Regions from separate parts of the Homo sapiens genome. Here all the other regions are linked to region 3. The links are contacts of gene promoters, found by promoter capture Hi-C in blood cells and fetal thymus (Javierre and others, 2016). All regions are on one chromosome and are shown on one strand. The core of a region is centred on a gene start or on the middle of the fragment in contact, and the rest is flanking DNA. Distances in the headings are between cores, read along the strand shown. Region 1 has its middle 86 kb from the start of NEDD1. Region 2 overlaps NEDD1 (NEDD1 gamma-tubulin ring complex targeting factor). Region 3 holds the start of LINC02453 (long intergenic non-protein coding RNA 2453). Region 4 overlaps NEDD1 (NEDD1 gamma-tubulin ring complex targeting factor). Region 5 overlaps NEDD1 (NEDD1 gamma-tubulin ring complex targeting factor).

The links. The method cuts DNA at HindIII sites, captures the fragments that hold promoters and counts their contacts. A CHiCAGO score of 5 or more calls a contact.
Region 1: a contact is called between a fragment that was not itself captured here and the fragment with the promoter of LINC02453 in region 3, in 1 of 17 cell types (total CD4 T cells). The highest score is 6.6, in total CD4 T cells.
Region 2: a contact is called between a fragment that was not itself captured here and the fragment with the promoter of LINC02453 in region 3, in 1 of 17 cell types (naive CD8 T cells). The highest score is 6.7, in naive CD8 T cells.
Region 4: a fragment that was not itself captured here is called in contact with the fragment with the promoter of LINC02453 in region 3 in 1 of 17 cell types (naive CD8 T cells); the score reaches 10.7 in naive CD8 T cells.
Region 5: a fragment that was not itself captured here is called in contact with the fragment with the promoter of LINC02453 in region 3 in 5 of 17 cell types (total CD4 T cells, activated CD4 T cells, naive CD8 T cells and 2 more); the score reaches 10.2 in total CD4 T cells.

The regions. Positions count from the first base shown.
Region 1 is chr12:96,992,289-96,994,988 of GRCh38, reverse strand. No RefSeq gene overlaps it. Among named protein-coding and RNA genes, the nearest start is that of NEDD1, 86 kb to the right of the region's middle. The HindIII fragment of the contact is 268 bases long and covers 1,168-1,435 here.
Region 2 is chr12:96,951,142-96,953,846 of GRCh38, reverse strand. It overlaps NEDD1 (NEDD1 gamma-tubulin ring complex targeting factor), which reads right to left. Exons shown (of 16, transcript NM_152905.4): 15 at 2,349-2,415; 16 at 67-1,898. The coding sequence ends at 1,794. Among named protein-coding and RNA genes, the nearest start is that of NEDD1, 45 kb to the right of the region's middle. The HindIII fragment of the contact is 602 bases long and covers 950-1,551 here.
Region 3 is chr12:98,502,460-98,505,159 of GRCh38, reverse strand. LINC02453 (long intergenic non-protein coding RNA 2453) reads left to right here and starts at 1,305. Exons shown (of 4, transcript NR_038383.1): 1 at 1,305-1,400; 2 at 2,548-2,577. TRD-GTC1-1 (tRNA-Asp (anticodon GTC) 1-1) reads right to left here and starts at 1,657; the gene lies at 1,586-1,657. It overlaps TRW-CCA4-1 (tRNA-Trp (anticodon CCA) 4-1), which reads right to left and starts at 908; the gene lies at 837-908. RefSeq lists enhancers at 948-1,247, 1,258-1,567. The HindIII fragment of the contact is 12,452 bases long and covers 1-2,700 here.
Region 4 is chr12:96,927,653-96,930,459 of GRCh38, reverse strand. The region is part of intron 6 of NEDD1 (NEDD1 gamma-tubulin ring complex targeting factor); the gene reads right to left. Among named protein-coding and RNA genes, the nearest start is that of NEDD1, 22 kb to the right of the region's middle. The HindIII fragment of the contact is 6,422 bases long and covers 1-2,807 here.
Region 5 is chr12:96,911,612-96,914,311 of GRCh38, reverse strand. It overlaps NEDD1 (NEDD1 gamma-tubulin ring complex targeting factor), which reads right to left. Exons shown (of 16, transcript NM_152905.4): 4 at 1,495-1,589. Among named protein-coding and RNA genes, the nearest start is that of NEDD1, 5.7 kb to the right of the region's middle. The HindIII fragment of the contact is 4,151 bases long and covers 1-2,700 here.

The sequences.
Region 1 (2,700 bases), core at 52-2,551, 1.5 Mb after region 3:
AAGGACTTGAGCTTTCAGTTCATAGATTTTTTTTAAGTGACATTTGAAAGGTGCTGCTATCATCCATTCATTTGGGTTCTGTTTGGCCTTTAAATGTAATATTTCAACTGAGAGTTCAAGCAGGTGGGGGCAAGCTGGAAGGTTAAGATGTTTTCATGAAAAGCAACCAAGCCAGACAGTTCCTATTGTCAAGAAGACCCCATTGAAAGCAGGAAGCACTAAAATTAGCCACTTAAGCTAATTTTACCCCTCAGGTCGAGGGGCACAAGCCCAGCTGTCCGGCCTTCCAGACTGTTTCATTCTTCTAAGCAGGAAGGAATCAAAGGGAAGCAATACTGTGATCCAGAAAAATCCATTGAATGTTGGGGAGGGAAGGGTAGTTGTTTCCATTTAACCAACATGGGCAATGGAGGAAAATATTTTTCAGTAATTGGGAACTCAAGAAAGACAGAACCCCATTAAATTCCAAAGGCAACTGCTAAGTTTTAGTTGTTAATTTCTGTCATGTTGCCTTGGTTGGAATGATGATCATTAATTATTCCTTTATGAAGATTTACTTTTAAATTTGTCTCAAAATGGCTTGAACAATGGATTTTAACTGAGTATAACTATTATATTAAAAATCAATTTCTAAAATATGAACAGTAACAGAACAGATTTTGCATTGTACAGCGTAACAGAACACACACACGCACACACACACACTCTTACACCTCTAAAAACTTCACATTTGTTTTCTTTTTCTTTAGATAATAAACAGAACTGCTTCTTTGAGATGATACTGAATGGCCCATGTACCTCCCTTCACGCCAGCATAGGCATAACCATTTCAAAAAGGTGATTATAAACAATATCTTATATTCTGATGTTCCTTCCCTCCTGAAACTTCAGACTAAAGAGACTGAGTTTCCCCAGTGAGTCTCGGAAACACAAAACAGGATGTTTAATTTGTTTAAGTTTCCAGAGCAATTTACCGGAGACAAAAATAAAATACCGTGGCATTTTGCTGGCACCTTAAAAAAAAGAAAGCCTGTCTTGGAAGTACAATGAACCTCATGAGATCTCAAACACGAATCCTCTATTTGTATGCTCACATATTTTTATGATTTTGTTCACTGAAGAACAGTTTAACATATTCCAATCCATGCACTTAGTGAAAGAAAAGCTTCCAACAAAACAGGTCTTTTTACAAGGCAGCCCCCAAGGTCTCCAACAGCTAAACAGACGCAAGTAGCTGCGTACAGTCCCTATTCTAGCTGTGGCAATCAAATGATATGTTCACTGGATCATCTTAATTTGAAAAAAGGTTCTCCTGTTTAATAAAATACAGCGCCAAGCTCAGTGTCAGCCCTGAGTTTAAAAATCTTTAAAGAAAACTTCTATGCCTGTGAGTAAGGTACTATCATCTATGCTTTCATTATTTTAAAATGAAGCTTAAAATGAGAATAATTACTTTTTTAAAAGAAAAGAAATTATTTATCTGCAGCCCGTAGCTTAGATATTGTGCAAAACAGCCCAAGGAGGTCAAAGGCAGACATTGTTAAAAAGATGGTAAGTCACTTTATTTTTTTTTTTAATCTTGCTCTTCAGGATTTTCACTTGATCTGCAGCCACTGATGCCCTACCAGCTTGGAAAATGTTTTATTTCCTTGCTTTGGAGTGAATTATCAGGCAATCATTTGCTTTATTGATTCTGCTCATTATTGCAGTGGTTGCTTGCCTTAGGTCCCTGGAGGTCAAGGCAAGAAACCAAATATGTATGTGGATTTCTTTTCTACTGCTTCTGCTTGCTCTAATTTGACCCTCAACCACCAGAAAGCTACATAAGAACCATATTTAGGATTTGTAAGGTACTGTCTACTTAGAAGGTGCCAGTTGACACATGTATGTTAACCAACTGCCGGTTATTCCACATCACTTTAGAGTTCTTTGATTGCAAGCAACAGAAAATATCCCTGGATAATCAAAGGGAAAAAAGACTGTATCAAAAGCGAGTAAAGTGGAGAATAGATTGAAAGACTGAAGACCCCAGCACACACAAAAGTAGGAATGAAGAAAGGTCTGAGGAGGTCTAGCTATCAGGCCCAACTTGACAGTCTTAACTAGGCATTGCTACTCAAATAAATAAGTCAAGTCATTTTTTGAGTTTGTCGCTTATATCATATCATTGAAATTTCTGAATTCCAGAGGAGAAGGTCCTGTTGGCACTACTGACATTTTGGACTAGAAAATTCCTTGTGGTGGGTGGCGGGGGGTGGGGGTGGCTGTCCTGTGCATTGTAGGGTATTGAGTGGCACCCCTGGCCTCTACACACTAGATGCCAATAGCACCCCCACTAGCTGAGACAGAATGTCTCTAGACTTTGCCCAGTGTCCACTAGTAGGCAAAATTACCCCCAGGTGAGAACCACTGGCTTAGATTTAATCAACAACTGCCCACCTCATGGCTTACAAAAGGCCAGGTACCTTGATATACAACCCTATAACACAAAGAAAAGATGGATTAGTTTCCAAAACAGAAACTGGGATATTGTTTCCAAAAGATAGAGGAATTAGCGCTTGCTGTGCATTTCAATATTGGTAAGTAGAAAGCTGAAAAAGATTATGGTTTTTTAGCCTGTGTATTCAGAGAACAGAAAAAAAAAATGGAATTAAAAAATATTTGAAAACAAATCATAGAAAAAGTAATGCATCAAAATGC
Region 2 (2,705 bases), core at 1-2,500, 1.6 Mb after region 3:
TGTTTGAGGTTCATTGAGTTTCTTAGGTCTCATTTGTTTCTCTCAAGGATCAATATCTGACAACTGTTTCACATATTTTCTTTTTTAATTTCAGGTGGGAAGGTAAATCTCTCATATCATTTTGGCCAACAATGAAATTTCAATTTCATGTTTCCTATTTTTTGCATATAACATTTTATTTTTTATACTTACTTAGCTTTTAAATTCCATGACAAAAATGTTTCATCTGTACACATAATTACTAAAATTATTTCATCCCACCTCTTTTAATATACATTATGTGTATTTATTTTTTTAAAAAAGCAACAGGAAAATATTAATAGATTTAAATACACCATGTAGGCAAAACACACTAATATTTATGTCTTCTAAACCTGTTAGTGATATACAAGGAAACTTGTTACAAGTCATAATGCTTTCATAATCTGTCAGGAAAAGATCACATTAACATCCCTATATGCTTCAGTACAAATGTATGCTATAAACCACACTGGGTAAAAGTAATATTCCTGTTTTTATTTTTGGAAGTAATTATTAGTAAGTTTATGCTTATTAAATATATCCTTAAAAATTTCCATCACTTCAGAAACCCATAAAGTTAGTGAGCTAAAGGTTTGTTTTTTGTTTTTTTTTTTTTAATTTTAGTAAATACTTTCATCTCAGAAGTCAAAATGGGGCAGAAGAGCTATACAAAGGTACACAGTTTAAATCTTTGGGACAAGAGACAAGAAGGTAACCAAGTCAGTAGCCCCCCCAAGCTTCACTTAACCTAAAATTGTAGATCATAGTAGGTAGATGTATACATCTATCTATTGCCAAAGAGGTATAACTTATTTTGACAACCTTTCTAAATAATTTTATGGTAAGGCCAATAATATAAAAATATTATACACAGTACAGAAAGAATTAAAGTTAATGATAAAGACCACAAAATAAAATAATCCAAGCTTCTTATTTGGAAAAAGAAAATAGAAATAATACTATAATATTTAGTACCTAATATGAAATCTCCACTCATTATAAGTTGTCATGTTGATTGAAATTTTGCAGTACAACGTTGCATGTTACTAATGAGAAAATCACCAGATAGCTCTTGTCGAGTCCTATGAACCTTAAACATTTTTTATAGGTAAAGATATCTTAAAAATACCACCCAGGAATAAAGATTTGTCAGAAGTACAATATAGTAACATAAATGCAAAAGATATCATGTAATTTGTGCAATTCAAAATTCCAAAAATTGTCTTATCAAATGTACAATAAATAATAGTCATACTTGACTTCATCAAGTTAACAAAATAATTACTAGCCAACCCTATGTTTTATTAGTCAATGGCTTAGAAACACCAATTGCCATTTTAAAATTACTTTCTCCATAAAAATAGAAGGCATATCAAACTCTTTAAATCTCAACTAGCCCCAAAAATTTGAAAGGCAATTTGTCAATCAAAAATATATGTTAAAAAAGATGACTAAAAAACAAACATAACCAATTTTTATGCACAATTTTCTTCTCTTATGAAAAAGGGCACTTAGTGGATGGCTAAAGCTTTCAAAAAATAAAGATCCTGTTGACTTTCCTATTGGGTAGATGACATACTGTACAATTTTTAATATAAAAATATACATATTTTTAAGATGAAACAGTTGTTGGTATAAAATCCCATCATCCTTTTACTCTTACTTGAAAAACATTTTTTCCCTGGAGGCCATGAAAACAATACTGATTCTATGTAGTTCTGTGTTGCCAGAAACTTCCCAAATTACAGAACATTAAGGTATTCACTGAAATTTCAAAAGTGGGCCCGTAATCTTTTGTTTTCTTCTCGTAGTCTTTCAATTTCAGCCACTAAACCTTCATTCACTGAGTATCTTTCCAGCAAAGAATGCATTTCATTCTAGAAAAACAGGAAAATGCTTTTTAAATTATTGATATTTCACATTTATTTGGCAGGCTATGTTTAATATACTTTCAGCTATCATTTCTCTCATGTTCAATTAACTAGGTGAATGATATTTCTTGTACTTAACAACTTACTAGTTTGTTAATATAAATGGAAGATCGTTGGTGAAATTAGTATATTTGGAAAATTTATATTTGCACATTTAAAATGCTTTTTGCTTACTTATCAGGAAGAAAGCCATGGAAAAAAGAAGGCTTAAGTATCTCAGAGGTTAAAAAGGAGGTGACCAGTTAAAATCTATTTTACTTATTTAGTCTATAAAACTCCCTATTTATCTTAGAAACTAAACAAAACAACTAAAATATATTACCTTTCATGGATTTTTAAAAATTCACACAACTCTACTTTCATTTAAAATATTAAAATAAAATTTGCCATACATACCAGTTGCATATGAAACTGTTTAATCATCTCCACTTGCAAATTCACAATGTCCCTATGGCATGCTTCTCTAGGAAGAATGTAAAATACTTTTTAGAATTACAATAGTTTAACCAATTCTAGGTCATTCAAGAAACTCACTAAACTTTTTCATTTGCCAAATTACTGAATGTTAATAATTACTATAATAATAAAAATACCAATGCACTGAGCATTTATTCACTATGTGCTAGGCACTGTTTCCTTTACTTTAAATGTAAGAACTCGTTTAAAATATCTTCACAAGTAGATGCAATTATTACAGGTCCATTTTACAAAAGAAATAACTTAACCAGAGTAGATATAACTTGTTCAAAGTCA
Region 3 (2,700 bases), core at 56-2,555:
CTCCGCCTCCCGGGTTCAATCAATTCTTCTGCCTCAGCCTCCGGAGTAGCTGGGATTACAGGTGCACCCCACCATGCCCAGCTAATTTTTGTATTTTCAGTAGAAATGGGGTTTCACCATGTTGGTCAGGCTGGTCTTGAACTCCTGACCTCGTGATCCACCCACTTTGGCCTTCCAAAGTGCTAGGATTACAGGTGTAAGCCACTGAGCCTGGCAGTCACACATTCTTTCAACTGTTTGTTTCCACCTTTATTATAAAGTATTTATAAAGAGGGATCCAGAGTCCCTCACCTGGTTCAGAATCTTGGGTGACCCTTGGCAGGTCACTAACCCTGTGAGCCACAGCCACATTTGTAAAAGTGGGATAATAGTCACACATTGTGAGGTTGTTCACAGTGTTGGCACATGGTAAGGGCTAAGACACTTGATTAGCATAATATTCAAAATTAGAAATTGTACACTATTGTACTCTCTTTCAAAAGGCAAACAGCCTAAAACTGTTTGGAAAAAACAGCTTGTACAGTATATTGTACACTTCCTGTGATAGACTAGTGGACTGATACACCCACTAATGCACAGCAGTAATAGTCCACCTCTTTACACATTATGCATGTTAAGTGACAAAAAAACTCACTTTAAAAGGCCAAATGATAAAAACATCAGCCTTGAGGCTCTTCGATATAGAGTAAATCATATCTTCCTGCAAACCAAGGATTAGTATCATAATACCTGAAAGAGGAAAACTTAATTCTAACATTCAAGAAAATTGGCGGCAGGAATACACCTCGGCTTCTAGTAGTCGGTAGTTTAAAATACAGGAGGAAAAAAAAAAAGTTTGACCCCGACGTGATTCGAACACGCAGCCTTCTGATCTGGAGTCAGACGCGCTACCGTTGCGCCACGAGGTCCTGCTGGGCTGTGGCTCGCGCAGTTTCTTAGGACACCAGTAAATGGCGTTTCTTCCAGGGGTACCAGTCTTTCTCTTCCATTTACTCTCTGCCCCTCCACCCAGTATCTGTCGGACCAGGAGACCGATTCCTTCAGCGTCCAAACTTTCCTGACTGCTAGTCCTCTAACCAAGGCTGGGACGTAACCAGCGGAAGCGGGAGAACGGGGCTTCCCGTTTAGTCGGGTCTCCAGGATCAAAGGAAATTGGCCCTTCCTTTTCTTTACCAAATGATTTCCGTTCTTACCCGCCCTGCCCCCGCCCCGTTAGTCGCGAGACTCCGCCCTCTCTCCCCTCCCCCAACAGGTTCCGCGCGCTGAGTTCGCGACCTCGAGTTGTAATCTGGCGGGGCGCCACTAAGCCGGCGCAGGCCTTCGCAAGATGGCGGCTGGAGGCAAGGGCAGAGGCCTTCAGAGCGTTTTCTTTTTCCCTTTCCTCCCTTCCTGCAAACAATGTAAGGCATTTTCTCTCAGGGGAGGCTTTCACTTCATGGTGGGCATTAAGGTTAAAAGTCACCATTTTGAAGACAGGGTTGTGCACTTAAGGGAGCTGGTTTAGCATATTATGTTTAACAGCAGTGTCCTGTCATTGAATGATACAGAAAATAATAACTGTCGCCAAAAAAGTGCAGCTACACACCTCCCCGTCGGGGAATTGAACCCCGGTCTCCCGCGTGACAGGCGGGGATACTAACCACTATACTAACGAGGAGTCGTTAGGCTGTGTATTTTCTCAGACAGCCCTTCAAGGAGCAGTAAGATCCTTCCAGCGCTCCGTAACCTTCCGCCTGCCCCCGGGAAGTACGAAAGTCCGGTCTCTTGGAGCCGCTGCTTAGGCTTATTGTCCTCTCTGGGCGCTTTGTATTCTTGATGTTGGTGGGAAGAATAAAAGGTGTGGAATATGTGAAGGAAACGCGCTTCCCATGTTAGTGCTAGAGAAGTGTGTGAAAATAGTTTTTCCGAGGCTCTTGACGCGTTCTAAATGATTTAGGTTGCCGTCCTGAGTTTTTTTTTTTTAACTGACCACTGGTATGTGACTTGCGGCTGAGCCTTCCCCTTACAAATTTATACTTTCACTCTGAAGTTCAAGTTCAAGGATAGCATATGGCTGCCAGATGTCGGGGACAGTTAGGGTTGCCACGGTCTCGTGCCTCTTCAAACAATTCATAAGTCTTTTTTTTTTGAGAGGAAGTCTCGCTCTGTCCCCTAGGCTGGAGTGCAGTGTTGCGATCTGGGCTCACTACAACCTCCACCTCCAAGGCTCAAGTGATTCTCCCGCCTCAGCCTCTCGAGTGGCTGGGATTACAGGCGCGCACCACCATGCCTGGCTAATTTTTGTATTTTACTAGAGACGCGGGGTGTGTGTGTGTGTGTGGGGGGGGGGAGGGTTCACCATGTTGGCCAGACTGGTCTCGAACTCGTGACCTTTAGTGATCCACCTGCCTCGGCCTCCCAAAGTGCTGGGATTTACAGGCGTGAGCCACCGCGCCCGGCCAATTCACACACTTTTGTAACACAAAAGCGCCCAATGAAATGACCAGCTGCGGGCAAATGAAATTTTATCAAAATTTTATCAGCCGACTTCTGTTTCGCTCTCTGTAGGTGGCTACAGTTTAACTGGAAGTGACAAACGTAAGTATGTGAATGGCTAAATAATAATGCGTTTAAATAATTCAAAACCAGGATGTGCCACTGATTAAACATATGGGTTAGGAAAGTGCACTAATCGGATAATTTGATAATTTGTGTCATCCT
Region 4 (2,807 bases), core at 216-2,715, 1.6 Mb after region 3:
GCACATCTACTCTAGGAGAAGACCCTTGGAAGTTAACATCTGGTTTCCTATGGCCTTCACCCCATGCACTTTTCTCTTTGCTGGTTTTGCTTTGTATTCTTTCACTATAAAATAAATCATAGCCATGAGTATGACTATATACAGAATCCTGTGAGTTCTCCTAGAGAATGACCAAATCTGGTCTTAGAAATCCCCAACACAGCATGTGAGAGTGTGAGAGAGAGAGAGAGAGAGAGAGAGAGAGAGAGTGTGTGTGTGTGTGTGTGTGTGTGTGTGTGTGTGTGTGTGTGTGTGTGTGTGTGTTTTACAACAGATAATAAACTAGATGACCAAAAACTAAAATCCCACGGACAACATTTACAACAAACTAGATGATGAGGTATCCCCATGAACCCCCAAACACATGCTGAGAGGTCAAACAATTAACAGCCATAAGTCCTTCATGGTACTGGTGTCTGTGCAGAAGGAAGTAGAAGGAATAACAAGGAATCTGTGACAGATCTGAGAACAGAAGCAGCCCATAACAGCCAAAAGGTATTCACAGAAAAGCATGGTGGCCAATTTTACAACCTCAGTCAAAACCCAGAATATCCACTTCATTAACAGGTCTGTGCTACAGGTTTGCAGGAAGGTCAAGACAAGAGCAGTTTAGCCAGAGAATTCCAAAACTGACCAGCCAAAGTGTGTCCCTCTCAGGTCAGAGCCCCACACTGAGGAGATCTGCTAGAAGTGGAAGCAAACCTGAACAGGATGGAGGCAACAAAGGTTCACAGACAGGTGGAAAAGTAGAGCAGAGTCAGGGAACCCCAGAAAGCAAGCAGCCATTAAAAAAAAAATATATATATATATATACACATATGTGTGTGTGTGTGTGTGTGTGTGTGTGTGTGTGTGTGTGTGTGTATACATGAAAACAATAGGGAGCTCTGTGAAGTTAGAAAAGCCACTTTGACCTCCTTTTGTCTAGAAGTTCAGGGAAGCTAAAACTAATTTCACAGATATATCCCACACAAACTTATGAAAACAAAGAGAACAAGGAGAAAAACGTTCTCAACAGAAGATCAGAAAGAAAAAAAAAATACAAGACATTAAGGAAAAAAAAAATACAAGACATTAAGAAAAAAAACATAAATTTAAAACTCAGAAAAGAGATGTCAGAACTTGGGAAAGAATTAGAAATTTTTTAAATCTCTTCAAAAATGAAGGCTAATTTAGAAGGAATTCAAAAATGAATAAACACAACAGACAATACCTTAAAGACAGGTTAAAAAGAAATTTTTAAAAATCAAAAAGAAATAACAAAAAAGTTTAAAAACACTTGAGAAAAAATGATAAACCACTGAAGATAAGCAAAGAAAATGCAACAACAAAAAATCCAAAGAGAGAAAAAGAATACTAAAAATTATAATTTAAGAAAAATTTCCAAAAATAAAAAAAGACTTGAAACTACATATTAAGAAACACACTATGGGCCGGGGGTGGTGGCTCACGCCTGTAATCCCAGCACTTTGGGAGGCCGAGGCGGGCAGATCACGAGGTCAGGAGATCGAGACCATCCTGGCCAACGTGGTGAAACCTCCATCTCTACTACAAAAACTACAAAAAATTAGCCAGGCGTGGTAGCAGGCGCCTGTAGTCGCAGCTACTCGGGAGGCTGAGGCAGGAGAATGGTGTGAACCCAGGAGGCGGAGCTTGCAGTGAGCCCAGACAGTGCCACTGCACTCCAGCCTGGGTGACAGAGCGAAACTCTGCCTCAAAAAAAAAAAAAAAAAAAAAAAGAAACACACTATGTACCTAACAATAGCAATACATAATGACCAACATCAAGACATATTCTAGAAAAATTACGTGGCTTTAAAGAAAAAAAAAATTCCTTTGAATAACCTAGGAATAAAAAACTAGTGACTTAAAAGGGTTTCAAAAGCTATGAAATCACGTCACACATTTGAGACCAAAGATAATAGGGTAACACTTAAGCTCCTTAAAGGAAATGTAAGCCTGCTACTAAATTACATTGAAAGAGAACTTGTACTCTCAAAGAAAAGAATCAAAAATCAGAAGATACATACTTATGAAAACAATATTAACATGTGCTCATTTATTATAAAAATTTGGAAAATAAAACAATAGAGGATTTTTAGGTAAATGATGGCATTGAATAATGAAATACATCCAGTCATTAAAAATTATGGTTATGAAGACTAATAATATGAGGATACCCAGGGTAGATCACTAATGAGAACAGGCAGAAAACATGATTGGACAAACAGAATGAGTATAACTATATGGACAGAAGACAGAGCTATACATAGAAACACTGTTAGAAAACATCTTTCAAATAGCTTTCTACTGAAGAAAATTTAGAAGAGAAAAATAGAAGGAGAAAAGTCTTTAAGAAGAAATATACAGATTATCCATTTATTTTATGCCTACATGTCAATTATAAAATTGCTCAAGAACATATTATATAGGCTAGTCAAGTGTATACCAATACTACAGAAATATATAGAGAATCAAAGAAATGTTATCATATAAACATTTTATACCAATGCTCCTATATAACATAAAAAAGACCACTTCTAGATAAAAAGTCTTTGTAGTCAAAGTTTTTGAGTGCTGCAATTCTGGTATAAATATAACCAGTCAATGAAATAAACCAATTTAGAATAGATTCATTCTTGAGAAAACTATTATTTCTAAAAATGTAATTAATATTTACATTTATCAGATCTCCATACTCAAGCAGACTATTAATGCTTACAAAATCTATACATAAAACATTTCATTTAGGAAAAGCAAATGGATTT
Region 5 (2,700 bases), core at 78-2,577, 1.6 Mb after region 3:
TGATTCACTGATCCTAAGGCATAATGCATAACAGTAGTACATATATATAGTGGTAGAGTAGAAGTTGAAATTGTTTTGATGTTGACATTAACAAGTTTTTTGAACATCTTAGGATACAAAGATCCAAAGATGGTTAAGATGTTTTGCCTGCTCTTGAAGACTTCAGTCTGCCTTTATCGACCAGAGACATTCTATGCCTTGATTCTGCTTAAGTCAGGTTAAACAGAGTGCCTCAAACTCCATTTCTACTGTTAGCACATGTTCCCTCTGTCCCAGTCTCCAACATCTGTGGGTTAGAACTGAAGTTCAGGTCAATCCCACTGGATACCTTTAGGAGAGGATTGATAAAAATCATGAGTCCTCTTTAAATTAGTTGAGCTTTTATTCAGTTGTCCTGCTGTTTTCTTTCTAATTGGGCTACTTTACCTATCCCAGTGTGTAAAATTATGACAATTCATAATAATTTAAGATCTGCTAGAAAAACTTTGAAATTAAAAAAAAAAGCTATCAACTACCATATCTTTTTATTTAAATCTTATCTTATTTAAAAAAGAAATAGCTTTCAAAGAGTGTGTGACTAGAAATGAAGAAGCCAGTATTATCCTTAATCAGAGGGATTAACTTATAAAACAAAAGGATAGGCTGGGTGTGGTGGCTCATGCCTGTAATCCCAGCACTTTGGGAGGCTGAGGCGGGCGGATCATGAGGTCAGGAGTTCAAGACCAGCCTGGCCAACATGGTGAAACCCCGTCTCTACTAAAAATACAAAAATTAGCCAGGCGTGGTGGTGGGCACCTGTAATCCCTGCCACTTGAGAGGCTGAGGCAGGAGAATCGCTTGAACTGGGGAGGCGGAGGTTGCAGTGAGCTAAGATTGCACCATTGCACTCCAGCCTGGGCAACAGAGCGAGACTCCATCTCAAAAGAAAAAAAAAAAAGGATAAGGCAACAGTACGTAGTGAGAGCTTCATTTAAACGCCCTGGGACCTAAGCTCATTTTGACAAAGCCAACCTGTTTAAGGAGAGTATGGGGGAGGCTCAGACAGGCCCCTCAGTACAGGTGGACAGAATCTGAAGCAGAGAGCTACCATCAGCTGTGAGTCTGTTCCTGATGGTCCTGAGCCCAAGATCAGTAAAGCAGTGCTGTGTCATTAGAGTTTATATGCTCAGGTCAACCTAGTAACCTATGTGGGATATCGTCCTAAAATAGCAGCAACAGAGATCCTCTCCCACTGAGGGAAAATGGAGAAATGAAGTGCCTAGTCAACAAAATTCAAGTCTTCAATTGTTCCCCTATATTCAAAACTATTTTACCTAAAAATACTTTAGTAAGTACACATATCTCATTTTTAAGTGTTACTATATTATTTTGAGCTTAAGTTAAAAATAATGCTTTTAAAAACCTTTATATTTAGTCGCAAGCACCACAATAAGCAATTGCCAGTCAAGCAAAACTAAGATTTTTAAAAGTTTAAAAAAAAAAAAAATCACTTACCCCTTCAGCAAGCTCTAAAAGTGGAACAGGTTTACATTTGCAACTTGAGACAACTATTTTGTCGCCACTGGAAGATGCTGTTACTAAAAAGTTATCTAAATGAGGAGTTATGGAGCATCAAACAATCCATGAACATCTATAGCACTAGACTATTATAAGAATTGCGATTATAAAAGCTAACACACTAAGAAGACAAGCAATGAGTATAGCTTACAGAGTAGCTTTCAAAAATGGCTCACATTACTATTAATAATTACTAAGACTAATTCTCTTTGCTACTACTGCAGGGAAGAACTAGCCTTCTTTCTGGCTCTGCTATCACTCAAAAGCTATTTAACCCACGTGAAATACTACTCTGTTTTCAAAGAGTAGGCCAGAAGGGCTAATTTTATCCTTCAAGAATGAGAGCATGATAAAAGCAGCATCAGCAAATATCAATCAACCTTTTCATCTACAGAAACTGTTCAAGATATTTATTAACCTAGTGCTTGGTAACAATCTAAACTAGGAAGCAAACATCCACACTAGTCTCCTATTTTTCTATTTAAAAAAAAAAAAGGCCTGATATTTTCCCAGAACATGAATTTTTGTGATAGAATGTTTCAATCTTAAATTAAGAATGACTATTACAGTAACTTGCAAATATTTTATAAATATGTATGGTTAAATAGGAATTGTGTTATGAGTTTTAATTTTTAAATAAAATGTAATTTTATTTACCTTCTTTTACACGAATTGTAAATGGAACAATCAGTAAACACAAAACAGTAACTATTTTAAAACTAAAATGATTAAATACAATAATATAACTAAGAATAAGAGTCTGATTTTGAGAGCCATAACAAATTAAAATATCAGAAGTTTAAATCTGTGCTTTTTAGCAATTAAAATCTGTGAGTAAAAGCAATGGAGAAAGGTTAATTAGACACTCAGAATCCCTAACTGCATTAACTTTTGAATGTTCTGTATAACTTTCAGGTATTTTGTAAACAGAGCATAGACTGTAATTTTATTATGATACATGATGCAAATCAAATCATTCCTACCTAGATATTACCATAGCGAGAAAAACCATTTCCCTTTCCTTGACTTCTTCCTGTTTACCACTACTTTTCTCCTTAGAATATAGAAAAAAAAGGACTGAAACATAATGTGGGTGGGTAATCTAGTTCTTTTTTATTTCTCTTGTAGTTTTAGAAATCATGA